Regions from separate parts of the Homo sapiens genome. Here regions 2, 3, 4 and 5 are each linked to region 1. The links are contacts of gene promoters, found by promoter capture Hi-C in blood cells and fetal thymus (Javierre and others, 2016). All regions are on one chromosome and are shown on one strand. Each heading gives the region's core, a stretch centred on a gene start or on the middle of the fragment in contact. The rest is flanking DNA. Distances are from core to core; before and after follow the strand shown. Region 1 holds the start of ITGBL1 (integrin subunit beta like 1). Region 2 overlaps FGF14 (fibroblast growth factor 14). Region 3 overlaps FGF14 (fibroblast growth factor 14). Region 4 overlaps NALCN (sodium leak channel, non-selective). Region 5 overlaps FGF14 (fibroblast growth factor 14).

Region 1 (2,700 bases), core at 10-2,509:
GATTCTTGGATGGTTCTATTTCATGAGGAAGGATTGCATGTACAGTGCTCTTCTTAGGGTGAATGAAAAATGTTTTCCCCCTTCCATATAACCCTCTACACATTTTCCCAGATGACCATAAATGTAGGGGATAGTGTATGCACTTTGGATTTCAGCTGAAATACGACTAACTTCCTCTGTGAATTTGAGCAAGTCAGTTGACCTCTTTGCCCTCAGTTTCTTTATCTTTAAAATGGGAGTAAGAATGTCTCCCTGTTCTCTTCCATCTCCTTCTTATTTCTACCCAATTTAATTCAATACTTTTTTCAGTTTTTTGTTCAGATGCTACCATCTTTGATTAGATCAAGTGCCTGTATCTCATCTGGAAGTAACTTCTCACTGCACTTGCAACCCTTTGTTCTTTTTTTTTGTGGTTTTGTGTTGATTAATGTCTTTCTAGCTCATTGGACTCTGAGAGAGCAGGGATCATGTCTCCTTAGTTCTCTGTTATATTCATTCTGTCTTGCACAAAACCTGGCACCTGATAGATGCTAAATCCCCATTTGCTAATGCATAAATAAATGTGTGATTATTGTCATAATTAGAGAAAACATACTAAATGACTGGCACATAGTAGGTGCTTAGTAAATGACACCAATTGTTTTTCAGTGCAATTTGTGCTATAAATAAACATTTAATTTTCTTTTCTCACATTTGATATATGGGGAGAATGGGGTGAATTTGAGACAACTACAATTTAAACTGTCCAAGTCACCAACAAATTGTGGTGTGATAAGCTACTGGCCTAAACAGCTGGAAGCATGACACGCTTTTTAAAGACTAAAGAAATGAAATATCCAGTTTAAATCAAAGGATAATAAATGCAAGAAAAAGTTGTGTTTGTCAGATTTCCTTGCCCCGGCCCCAACCCAAACTCCAAAGAGTGCATCTACTTTAAAAGCGTGTGGTGAAAGTAATTCCCTACCCAAGTGTTCCCACTACTGTCACTGGCCTCACCCTTCTCCACAACTCAGGGATTATTTTAAAGGTTTCTTTAATATCGGCCAGTCCAAATATTCTCTTGTCAAATATTTCTGTGGCCCGTACTTGAAATCTGTGAACAGGACACTTTTTTTTTTTTTAATGTCAAAATAAACCATCTGCTTGTACAACTGTTTCTAATTACTTCCCTGCCTAGACTCTCCACTGAGGGGTTTGGCACCAGCACCCCGCCCAGAGCAGTGCCGCTGCCCAAATCCTCGCAGGCAGCTCATCAACGCAATTGCAACTCCGGCTGGAGCCCCGGACCTGCAAGCCTGGGTGTCCGTGGGTCCGTCTGCCCAGCCATCTGCTGGTGGCACCTCTCCCTCCTGCCGCCTCCCTCGGTGAACCCCACCTTGCAGAAGTGCAGCTCGCCCGGAGCAGCCCAGGAGCTCAGCATGCGTCCCCCAGGCTTCAGGAACTTCTTGCTGCTGGCGTCCTCCCTTCTCTTTGCTGGGTTGTCAGCTGTTCCTCAAAGCTTCTCGCCATCTCTGAGGTAAGTTTGGTTTGTTATTCTTCAGTACAGACCTGCCCTGCTTATGTGGCAGGGCTCAAGCTTGCAGGATGGCTGCCCTAAGCCAAGAGCTGTTATTAAATTGGACAAGGGATAAACTGTTTTCAACCTGTTCCTTTTCCTCTCCTTATATCTACAGCGTGTATTGCCTCATGTCTGTCCTTTTGCTTTTCCTTTGGAAAAATGCAATCATTGAATAAAAATATAATTTTCTTTTCTGCAAATACATATCAGGAGGAATTCCTGCTGTGAGTTAAAATGCTATGTGTACCAGTATCTTCTCACAACATGTAAAGCAGAATGATCTGTTTCCCAAGGGCAGCAACAGGAGGTCTGTGTTACATTTTGTATCATCCTGAAAGAGACTGAGTGAGGCACACTGCAATAGTGAAACTAAACTTTTTAAAAGTAGAGTTCCTAAAGACTGCTTAATGCAAATTATGCCCGATGCTATCATAGCATGTCTAACTCTTTCTATAGATTCACGTTTTCTCTTCTGTAATATAAGTGCCCATTGGCCATCAGATAGCAGTGGGACGTTTTTTAAAGGAGAACTGAAAAGTCAGCTGAGTGCCGTACCTTGGATTACTTTGTATTTAATCTAAATGTGCATATAAGATTTAGTGATAAACTACCAAAGAGCAGGGCAGTTCACCTCTGTCCACCTGGAGGAAGGACCTGTGTCCGGGGGCAGGTCACCCATTACACATTTTGGGCCCTGGTCATTTCTCTGGTGGGTGATACCTGTTTGCTTGGGAAAATACAGCCCTTCCAGGCAGCGCTTGGACCCCAGAGAGATGTGGGCCTCAGGCGTCCTGTTCTTGGGGTTGTACGTCTGCACCTGGAGGGGACACTGGGGAGGAAACGTGGGTTCGGAGCAGGGGGCGGCGTCCGCGTCTGACCCGGCCTGCCGGTTGCTTGTCGCCCGCGCAGGAGCTGGCCGGGCGCCGCCTGCAGGCTGTCCCGGGCCGAGTCGGAGCGACGCTGCCGCGCACCTGGGCAGCCCCCGGGGGCCGCGCTGTGCCACGGCCGGGGCCGCTGCGACTGCGGCGTCTGCATCTGCCACGTGACTGAGCCGGGCATGTTCTTCGGGCCCCTGTGTGAGTGCCATGAGTGGGTGTGCGAGACCTACGACGGGAGCACCTGTGCAGGTAAGAGGGCGGCGC
Region 2 (2,700 bases), core at 137-2,636, 370 kb after region 1:
AGGGAAAGGAGAGAAAAACAGCCAAGATTATTTTCTTCATAAGACAGTTATTTCTCTTATGAAAAATAAAATATACTCAACTGAAAGTCCCAGAATGTGGCATGAATTAATCCAGAGATCCTGTGATAACCCGGTTAGCAGTGGGGAATCTTGCCCCAAAATTGGGTTCACAGACTCAATGTGAATAGGAGAGAAATGGGCACTTTAGTAAGGGGATAGCTATCTTCCATTATATTCTACCTATCAGTGATGTAAAAGTAAACTTAAATTACAAGTAAATAAAAATGAATTATATGGCGTAATTTTGTACTTAAAATTTGAGGATGTGAAATTGAATCTTTCAAGTTACTTCAAAATAACTGCATCAGCAATCGTCAGCTTAGTTTTATTTCCAGCATCAGACAAGAAGGTATCTCCTATTTTCTAGCAATGATACTCATTCATTCCCAAAGTTATTATAATATGGATTTTTAGAATAGTTTTGAAGATACATGATAAATCAAATACATGTCTTATGATAAGAGAGAAAACATGTCCTGGTGTCTTCTGTCTTGGGACTTTAAATCCTCACTTTTGCACAGCCATGCACTTCTCCCTCTGATGTTGAGGGCATCCCTGATGGATGCGACGGAAAGATATTTCAGAGAACAGGCTGTGTAATTAGAAAAAAGGATGGTACATGAGCCTCAACATTATACTCATCATTTTTCTCATCTAAGATCCACAAGCTTTTGGAAAATCAGCTTTCCTAGCTATTTCTTGGCTGACAGCAGGTAAAAAGATTTAAGATGAGAATTAATTACACCGATATAAAGTTATCAAGGGACAAGCCTATGGGACTTGCTCATTGGCCCCAAAGGATATAAAATGTCAGAGAAACAGTGGCAGCAATATATCAATGAACCAAATGTTTCTGATGTTTGACAAAACATATTATGGCAATAAATGATGCTGTGTTCTGTAATGAGATTGTATAAAGAAAAAAAAACAGTTTTTCAGCAGATATGCTACTTAAAGCAAGATTTCTTTATGCATATCACCAATAGTGAACAGATTAGTCCTATATAATTTTAATAATTTTGCAATTAAGAATCATGGAAAACAGATTAAAATAAAATAAACGTTGGCTGATAACAAAATTAAAATTGTGAAATCAGACTAAAATGAACATATCCAAGATGAAGACTAGCCTTTACATTCAGGTTGTGTTTCTGGGTTGAACGTGTGCAGCAAAGTCATAATTAACATTTAAGAAGGAAAGTTAATTTGAATTAAAGCAATATCATGTTTCTCATATAAAAGCTTATCAAAATACAATTACATATATATTCATTTATGTAGATAGTATCTATGGCTATGCAAGGGGAATTGTGAAAAGCTACTTTGAAAGTGCTTTCTTAGGCTATGATTATACCCCCTTTTTTCTGCTTTAGTGAAGTATAACTTACACATATTAAACTGCCCAAGTATTAAGCTTATAGCTACAGCTACAGTACACACACACACCACACACCACACACACACACACACACACACACACAACACACACACACACACCACACACACAGATACCAGATCAATAAATAGAACATTTTTAGCACTGGAGATACACTTGTGCTTCTTTTTAGTCCAGTCTCCCCCGAGAGGTAACTACTATTCTGACTTCTATCATAGAAGATTAGATTTTGCTTTTTTTTTTTTTGAGACAGAGTCTCGCTGTCGCCCAGGCTGGAGTGCAGTGGCATGATCTCGGCTCACTGCAGGCTCCGCCCCCCGGGATTCACGCCATTCTCCTGCCTCAGCCTCCCAAGTAGCTGGGAGTACAGGCGCCCGCTACCACGCCGGGCTAATTTTTTGTATTTTTAGTAGAGACAGGGTTTCACCGTGTCAGCCAGGATGTTCTCGATCTCCTGACCTCGTGATCCACCCGCCTCGGCCTCCCAAAGTGCTGGGATTACAGGCGTGAGCCACTGCGCCCGGCCCAAATTTTGCTCTTTTTAAAAATTTCACACATATTGATCGTGCAGCATTTATTCTTTTGTGTCTGGTTTCTTTTTCTCCTTTTTATGTCTGTGAGATCCATCTGAGTTCTTGTGTGTATCAATAGTGTGTTACTTTCACTGCTGTGTAGTATTCTGTGTTATGAATATGTTGTAATTTATTTATCCATTCTACTACTGATGGAAATTTCATTTGTTCCGGTTTGGGGGCCATTATTCATAATGCTGTTATTAAGATTATTTGTACATGAACTTTTAGTAGAAACATTTGTCTCTCTTGACTATATACCCAGGAGTGGACATGCTATGTTTGAATGTGTAAATATGTTTAACGTTAGTAGATTTTGCCAAAATGTTTTCCCAAATGGTTATAGCAACTGACATGCCAATAGCCGTATATGAGAGTTCTTTCTGTTCTACAACACTACCAGCATTCAGTATTCTCAGCCATGTTAATTTTAGCAATTCTGGTGGGAGTCTAATGGTATCAGTTTGTGGTATTTTAATGAGTAATGATGCTGAGCACCTTTTCATAAATTTCTTGGCTATCTGTGTATCTTCTTTTGTGAAGTGCTGTTTCAATTTATTTGCCCATTTTTAAGTAATTTGTCAGTCTTGTTTCTTGTTTCATAAGAATACTTTAAATATTCTGGGCATGAGTTCTTTGTCAGATATAAGAACTGCAGATATCATCTTTTCA
Region 3 (2,700 bases), core at 191-2,690, 330 kb after region 1:
TAGTGCTGCAATGAATATACACTTGCATGTGTCTTTATAGTAGAACAATTTGTAATCCCTGTGGTAATGGGATTGCTGAGTCAAATGGCATTTCTGTCTTTAGGTCTTTGAGGAATTGTCACTCTGTCTTCCACAATGATTGAACTAATTTACACTCCCACCAACAGTGTATAAGCATTCCTTTTTCTCCACAACCTTGCCAGCATCTGTTATTTTTTACTTTTTAGTAATAGCCACTCTGACTGGTATTAGATGGTATCTCATTGTGGTTTTGATTTGCATTTCTCTAATGATCAGTGATGTTGAGCCTTTTTTTCATATGATTGTTGGTGCATGTATGCCTTCTTTTTAAAAGTGTTGGCCGGGCGCGGTGGCTCAAGCCTGTAATCCTAGCACTTTGGGAGGCTGAGGCGGGTGGATCACAAGGTCAGGAGATCAAGACCATCCTGGACAACATGGGAAAACCCTGTTTCTACTAAAAATACAAAAATTAGCTGGGTGTGGTGGCACATGCCCATAATCCCAGCTACTCAGGAGGTTGAGGCAGGAGAATCGCTTGAACCCAGGAGGCGGAGATTGCAGTGAGCTGAGATTGCACCACTGCACTCCAGCCTGGTGACAGAGCGAGACTCTGTCTCAAAAAAAAAAAAAAGTATCTGTCCATATCCTTTGCCCACTTTTTAATGGCGTTGAGGTTTTTTTTTGGTAAATTTTTTAAGTTCCTTATAGCTGCTAGATATTAGACCTCTGTTGAATGTATAGTTTACAAAAATTATCTCCCATTGTCTAGGTTGCCTGTTTACTCTGTTAATAGTTTCTTTTGCTGTGCAGAAGCTCTTAAGTTTAATTAGATCCTATTTGTCAATCTTTGCTTTTGTTGCAACTGCTTTTGGCATCTTTGTCATGAAAATCTTTGCCTTTGTTGACATTGCCCTAAATGGTGTTGCCTAGGTTGTCTTCTTTGGTTTTCACAGTTTTGCATTTTACATTTAAGTCCTTAATCCATCTTGAGTTAATTTTTGTATATGGTGCAAGAAAAGGGCCCAGTTTTAATCTTCTGCATATGGCTAGTGAGTTATCCCAGCACCATTGACTGACTAGGGAATGAATCCTTTCCCCATTGCTTTTTTGTTGTTGTTGTTAGGTTTGTCAAAGATCAGATAGTTGTAAGTGTGCAGTCTTATTTCTGAGTTCACTATTTTGTTCCATCGGTCTGTGTGTCTGTTTTTGTACCAAAGCCATGCTGTTTTGGTTACTGTAGCCCTGCAGCAGCTTCTTGATTGATCTCTTTGTTTCCTGATTCCTCTAACTTATCCTGTACATTAGTGCCAAATTGATATTCCTTAAAGTTCTTTCAACAAGTCACTGCTCACAGTTCAAAGTTTGAACATCATAGCTTAGAAGTAGCTATCTACAATGTGGTCCCAATAGACCTTCTGATCTTAACTTCTATTATTCTTTAATATCCTCTAGTTCAGAGAAGTCTTTTAAATATGCCCTACTCATTTTTGCTGCCAGAAAATTTTCTACATTCTGATCATTTTGGGGAATATAGTTTCTTCTTCTCTCAATTTATTCAGATCCCACAAGGCTCCACTTATGACCCACCTTCATGAAGCCATTTCTGATTGGGTTGCCACATTGCTCAATTCCAGGAGAAACCATTAACATATTTGTGCTCCAGGGAGCAAATTTCTTGTTTACTTTCTAATATTACCCTTTCTTCCCTTTAGACTTTAGTCTTATGTAAAGTTTAATTGATGTCATTCTGAAGATTATTTAACCTTTTCAATGTTTGAATGGTAACATATAATGAATATAATCTTCCCATTTCCCAGCTATTTTCCCATTCTTATCTAATCTTTCTCTTGTCCCACTTGTCAATTTTACTCATGGCTTTCCAGGGTCAGCATGTGTTTATGAAACACCTGCTGTGTGTCTTGAACTGTTTAAGACAATAGACATACACTGTTGAATGAATTAGACTTGATCTTTGCTTTGGTGCAGCACTCATATCACTGCATACGCAATCTATGGGATCAAGTGTGGCAAGGGGGAAGTATCAGATGCTAAGGTGGCTTTAACAATAGGCTAGTGAGGTCATGAAAGGGGCCCCAGACATCTATTTCATGCATAGTTCTCAGGATCACTTCTAGCTTTATTTATACTGTTCCACATGAAGAGGAAACAACCAACCCCAGATCTGCTAAAATGTGTTCAGGGTCTCACATTGTCTCCTAGGTACTCTATTTGAGTAGAATGAGAAGTGCAGTCATTACATCTGCCACAAAAAAGCACATGTCTTCCAAATGTACATATAATGCATACATGGATGTGACATTGGTATATCTTTAGTTTTAATATTTTAAAAATTATATATAGATATGTAAATTATTCAAAGGCAGGGAGCATCCCTTCTGCTTTGTAAAGAATATTTGCGGTGAGGGTTAGCAACCCCAGCTGATCATGACAGACTCTATTTAAATATCCACAGTTTCAAAGCCTAGCTTCTCCCAAAGATTAAAAAAAAAAAAACCCAAACCAAAACAAAGCAAAAGCTATTAGAAAACAATATTATTTTCTATATTAATAAATAAAGAAAAACAATATTAAAGTAGATAATATAAAGTAAAACAATATTATCTAAGAGCTGGGCAACTTGATGTATGTAGGGTTTGCAGCTGTGTCATTTTAAGCCAT
Region 4 (2,700 bases), core at 131-2,630, 290 kb before region 1:
TGACTGGTACTCCTCACTCCTACAAGTGATTCTCTGGAAGTCCTCTCTTGCGCTTTGGCAAAGGAGGAATAATCTCTCTCCGTAAACACTGCTACTGATGATTCTACCACAACTTTCCTCCCACAGCACTCTCCTTATTTCATCTGGGGGAGTGTGAGCTGGGAAGATAATCAGGAATAAGAGGACCACCAGTCATCTTTGGAAGGTGGAATCTCAATTTAGAAGATAGAGCACTTAGCACTGAGATTTTAGGCACAAATCCAGAGTAAGATGAAATGATCCAGTTAAAAATATGTTGAAGGCATATGAGAATCCAGGTAGTCATATAATTCCCTTTCCTAAACTCCCAGAGTGAAAAAATAATAGGAAAGTGGGAAAGTTTGATGGCATATTAAGTAAATGGCAAGGAATGAATATCATCACTTTCCTGACTTTTATTCTTTCATTTGATCCATGTACAAATACAAAGCAATGCTGTCAATGACAGCATTTATTAATACAACCAAGATTTCTGCTAAGAGAAAATTGTATGTATTGACAAAATCTGACTATTCTCAGAGGAGATTACTTATCTAGGGCCCTGTGACCCCAGCTCTAGTGCCAGAGCTTGCAGCACAGGTCAGGTACATGGTAGACCCAGCTCTTCATCATGGCTTGCAGTCGCCCCCTCCGGGTGGTTACTAACATGTTGCCTATGCTGGGGATTGCGGTTTGTGTAGGTGGCCAGGGGTCGGAGCAGAAATTCGCAGTAATGAACAGAGAACATATTAGAACTACGTATATTAGAAAACCATGCAGCATGAACACCCCAAAATCAGAAGAGACACTGGACATAAACAACAGATCTGTCATAATGAAGTATACAGCTACAGGTGTCCCAGTAATGACAGCTCTCGACTCTTTCCCGGATGAGAATTTTAGATCTAGAAGAGATCTTGTCAGGGTCTAGTGCAGGGGCCCAGATTTAAATGCCTATGAGACCAGGGAGATGATATAAGTGCCAGCTTGGATGACATAAAACAATCATATAAGACAATATATAGGAGTTAGGACTCGTGTCATCAAAGAAAAGAGGGCACACCGGATCTAAAGATACCCAAGTTAGATTTGGTAAAACTGAAAGAGAGGGAAGACATTTCTCCAAAATCACATCTCTTTGTTAGTGAGAGAGAAGGTTTTTTTTGTTTTTTGTTATTTTTTGTTATTTTTATTTTATTTTATTTTGAGACGGAGTCTCATTCTGTCGCCCAGGCTGAAGTGCAGCGGTGCGATCTCGGCTCACTGCAACCTCTGCCTCCTGGGTTCAAGCGATTCTACTGCCTCAGCCTCCTGAGTAGCTGGGACTACAGGTACACACCACCATGCCTGACTAATTTTTTGTATTTTTAGTAGAGACAGGGTTTCACCATGTTAGCCAGGATGGTCTCGATCTCCTGACCTTGTGATCTGCCCGCCTTGGCCTCCCAAAGGAGAGAGAAGTTTTCATTGTTTCCTCCTGTGGACCACTCAGTGGAAGGAAAATGTTTGCAAGGTCCCTTCTAAATTTCCTTCCCTCTTCCTTCTTTTTCGCTTTGTCTGTGTCTCTTGCCTTTTATCTGCGCTTATCATAAAGCAGAGAGGTAAAGTGAGAACAGGAGCCATATGAAGGTGTAACTGACCAAGCGTGGGGAGGAGGGGCAGGCTAGGAAATGGGAACCAATACTCCCTCAGGACCCTACAATGGCACTCACATCTGCTTCCTCCTGAATGAGTGGTTGGGGAGGAGCTGGATTATCTCAGCTCCTCTTTTCTGTTACCTTTGCCTAGACTGTTAAATTACAGTGGCATGCAATAGATAAACATATTAAATCTCTCTGTAATATGCAGGTGAGTTCTCCAAATGTCTGCCTGTTCTGTTTTTTGTTTTGTTTTGTTTTTGTTTTTTTTTATGAAGGTGTTTCTTCCTTATAAATTGCCTTATGGTACAAAGTAACTCATCACCCTTGTCAAAGCTGGTTGAGCCAGAAACCGGGCCAAAGACAGGGACTTTCTATAAGACTGGCCAGCATTGCGAGGCAATCAGAGATGAAATTCCTGCCTAAAAGGAATCATATTGATTAGCTGGATCGACCAAATCTGTTCTTATTGATCAAGTTTTGAACCTGAGATACAGAAAATGTTGACTATTTGCAATGGAACTGAAAGTGAAAATACACAAGGAGGAAAACAGAGACAGGTTGAGTTACCATAAAGGCAAACACCAGCAGTTATTAAATGTTGCTCTTCCTCAAGGCTCCAGCATATTTTTTCTTCCCACCCTATACAATCTCATCCAGATTTACACCTTCCAGTATTATGAAAACATGGAGAACTTTACTAGGACTGAAGCTCAAAGGAGGCAGTCATTTTTGTCTGTTCTGTTCATTGACCTACGCCACATGTCTAGAACAGCACCTGAATAAATAATTGAGAATTACATTGAATGTCCACATTTATATCTCTAGGCAGCCATCCTTCTCCCCTGAACTCCAGACCTATACACAACTATTAGGCATCTCTGTTCAGACATCTTGAAAGATTCACCAACTCAACATGCCCAAGGCTGAGTTGATGAACGTTTCCCCCAAATACGGTTGTATGCTAGTGTTTCTTAACTCAGTTAATGACATTTCATTCATGCAACTGTAGAAACCTGAAACCAGGAATCATCTTTGAGACTCT
Region 5 (2,700 bases), core at 136-2,635, 440 kb after region 1:
AAACAAGAAAAGCTATCCAATTACTTGGCAGACTTACAGGAGAACTGATAAGATTACCAATAGCTAATTTTCAAGATGTCTAGAGTTTGCATAGCAAGGAAAATAAAATAATAGGGAATTGAACACAACACAATCCAAAGATGCAAAAGAAGCATCTTTTCAATTTTTTTTGATTATTTAAAAATGTGTCCCTTATCTAAACTCTTAATTTTCCCCTAAGGAAAAGTGCCTTATATTACCTAAAAAATTTTTGTTATGAAGATTTCCATGTAGGTTCCCACTGTACATTCTTTGAAAAGTGTTTTAGAAACAAACAAAAAAATAGGCCTCATCCTTATTGTTTACCATTTAGCCACATATATTATTTGGGCATCAGAAAGGCCTAGTAAAAGCTAATTAAGATCAAAACATTCTTAACTTGATAATTCTTTTAACAGCAGAGAGGAAATCCCTGGGCCTTGTAATTACATGGGCCATTGAACATGTGAAGTAAAAGGAATTAAGCTTGTTATGACTCACTACCACGTCCCCAAAATACCCCAAACCCAGTGTTATATGGCTAAAGGGAAAATGAATTTGCAGAGAACAAGGAGGTAGTTTGTCCCATATTCATCCTAAAATCTCCAGGAACAAAATCTAACATTTGACAGTAGGCTGGTCTCCCCATAGTGTGCTGGGAAAACAGTGGGGTTCAGTTGCCAATTAGCTATGTGGTTTAATGTAAGTCATAGCCTCTTGAATTTCTCTGAAAGGTGGACATAACCATATCTGGCCAAATAACAGCACAGGATGCTGTATGAATCTCAAATGTTATTTTAGATAAGAAAGTAGCATCACCACGGAATGAGGATGGAAAAGATGGCCAAGTGTCCAAATCTTGGGAGGTCTGTTAATTATACAAAAAATGAATTGCATCCTAAGAATATTTGAGGTCAGTAGATTAAAGCAGGCAGTGGCAAGATCATACGTAGACAGGTGAACTATCACTCTGGTCACTGGATGTTGGGTATGATGCATGCAGTTAAGATGCCATACCCATGACCCTGCAGTAGATGCCAGATCCTTTCTCAGAGGCTGGACAGTGACAAGGACTTAATTGTGAGAGTAATGTGGGAGGCAGGATGGTAGGATTTTAATAGAGGCTTGTTCTCTGCGTGGGCTGCCTGCTATTGAAAGCCAGTCTCTGCATCTTTTCAAATGGCTAGTTCCTATTCACCCTGTCATCACCTCTCTGTCCATGATTGCCTCTGGCAGGTTTTTCCTGCTCCTGCACCTTGAGCTGCATGAAGTCAGCCTGGGTTGTACCATCACAATATTCTGCAGCCAAGTGCTGCTATGGCATTAACCATGATGTATTGTGATTATGTGTCCATGTGATTGCTTTGCTGTGGTGGAGAGAACAATGGCTCCCTGAAAGCACCTACATTCTTATACCTGAAGTGTGTGACTGTGTTACATGACATGGCAAAAGGGCCTTTGCATACAAGATTAAGTTAGGGACTGTGGCATGGTGAGATTATCCTGGATTATTTGGGTGTGTCCAGTGTAATAACAGGGTCCTTAAAAGGAGAGTGGAAGGCAGAGGTGACTATTAAGTAATTATCAGAAAAATGCAACATTGTTGACCTTGAAGTTCAAGGAAAGTGCCACGTGATAAGGAATGTAGATGGCCTCTAGAAATGGAAGAAGGCAAAGAAATGGATTCTTTTCTACAGCTTCCAAAAAGGATCAGAGCCCTACTGACAAGTCAATTTTAGCCTGGCGAGATCCACGTCAGAATTTTAGCCCACAGAACTATAAGATAATCAGTTTATGTTCTTTCAAGCCATTAAGTTTGTAATGACTTATTGTTACAGCAGTGAGAAACCAATACACCTGACAAGATTCTTAGCATCTCATGGGGAGGGTCTGTGTTTTCTTTGACTCCCAGAGGCATCATAAGGCAGGTCCTCTGTGTTAGTGAAAGTGCTTTCACTAAACACAACAGCTCAACCCAACCTTTCCTGGCTTTTTTTTTTTTCACACTTTTTATCTTGCAGAGATATGGAAAGATATTTAAGAAAGAGTGACAATAATATCAGGCTTCTTTTGCATTTGGAATAGCCCTTTAGAGTTTTAAAGGTGATTTCATATACCTTAACTCATTTGAGATTTAACAACTCCTGCTAAGATTGGATTGTATCTACATTATGATTAAAATAACTTACAAATATACAAATATGGAAGAGAAGATAGAAAAATGAAAATGGTTAGGTGAGAGAAAAGGTAAAGCTTTAAATTCACCTTTGTGTGATTATTGTCATGATACTTTATTTAGCTTGCTGGTGCTTCTAATTGAAGAAACACCACCTGTATAGGCCATAGACATAAAATATTAGCAGTAGATAGCATCTCAGGAATTATCTATTAGTCCAATGAACTCCCCCAGTCAGGGCAACTGACTGAGACTTATCCTTGTCCTAAGTACAAAGAAGCAGTCTCAGAAACACAAAGTCCTGCCCCACACCCAGCGCTACAGCTGCGAAGTTGACAAAGAAATTTCCGCTCCCATTTTAACCTACTATTTCTGCCAAGAGGCTCTTTATAGCATGTTATATTGCTTAACATATACCCACTGACAGATTTCATTGGTAACTAATGTAGAGTGAGCATTAGATGTGAAACTGAGCTTCTCTAGCTTCCTATCATGGTTTGGGACAT

Evidence for each region. Contacts are between HindIII fragments. The CHiCAGO score rates a contact against its expected background, and 5 or more counts as called.
Region 2: a fragment that was not itself captured here is called in contact with the fragment with the promoter of ITGBL1 in region 1 in 1 of 17 cell types (erythroblasts); the score reaches 6.5 in erythroblasts.
Region 3: a contact is called between a fragment that was not itself captured here and the fragment with the promoter of ITGBL1 in region 1, in 1 of 17 cell types (erythroblasts). The highest score is 5.2, in erythroblasts.
Region 4: a contact is called between a fragment that was not itself captured here and the fragment with the promoter of ITGBL1 in region 1, in 1 of 17 cell types (endothelial precursors). The highest score is 5.6, in endothelial precursors.
Region 5: a fragment that was not itself captured here is called in contact with the fragment with the promoter of ITGBL1 in region 1 in 1 of 17 cell types (erythroblasts); the score reaches 5.1 in erythroblasts.

The regions. Positions count from the first base shown.
Region 1 is chr13:101,451,416-101,454,115 of GRCh38, forward strand. ITGBL1 (integrin subunit beta like 1) reads left to right here and starts at 1,260. Exons shown (of 11, transcript NM_004791.3): 1 at 1,260-1,516; 2 at 2,468-2,685. The coding sequence starts at 1,419. RefSeq lists an enhancer at 838-1,342. The HindIII fragment of the contact is 2,431 bases long and covers 1-1,496 here.
Region 2 is chr13:101,819,266-101,821,965 of GRCh38, forward strand. All of the region lies in intron 3 of FGF14 (fibroblast growth factor 14), which reads right to left. Among named protein-coding and RNA genes, the nearest start is that of FGF14, 96 kb to the right of the region's middle. The HindIII fragment of the contact is 172 bases long and covers 1,301-1,472 here.
Region 3 is chr13:101,782,831-101,785,530 of GRCh38, forward strand. All of the region lies in intron 3 of FGF14 (fibroblast growth factor 14), which reads right to left. Among named protein-coding and RNA genes, the nearest start is that of FGF14, 130 kb to the right of the region's middle. The HindIII fragment of the contact is 5,002 bases long and covers 1-2,700 here.
Region 4 is chr13:101,158,749-101,161,448 of GRCh38, forward strand. All of the region lies in intron 15 of NALCN (sodium leak channel, non-selective), which reads right to left. Among named protein-coding and RNA genes, the nearest start is that of LINC00411, 220 kb to the left of the region's middle. The HindIII fragment of the contact is 2,828 bases long and covers 1-2,700 here.
Region 5 is chr13:101,892,016-101,894,715 of GRCh38, forward strand. The region is part of intron 1 of FGF14 (fibroblast growth factor 14); the gene reads right to left. Among named protein-coding and RNA genes, the nearest start is that of FGF14, 24 kb to the right of the region's middle. The HindIII fragment of the contact is 1,767 bases long and covers 503-2,269 here.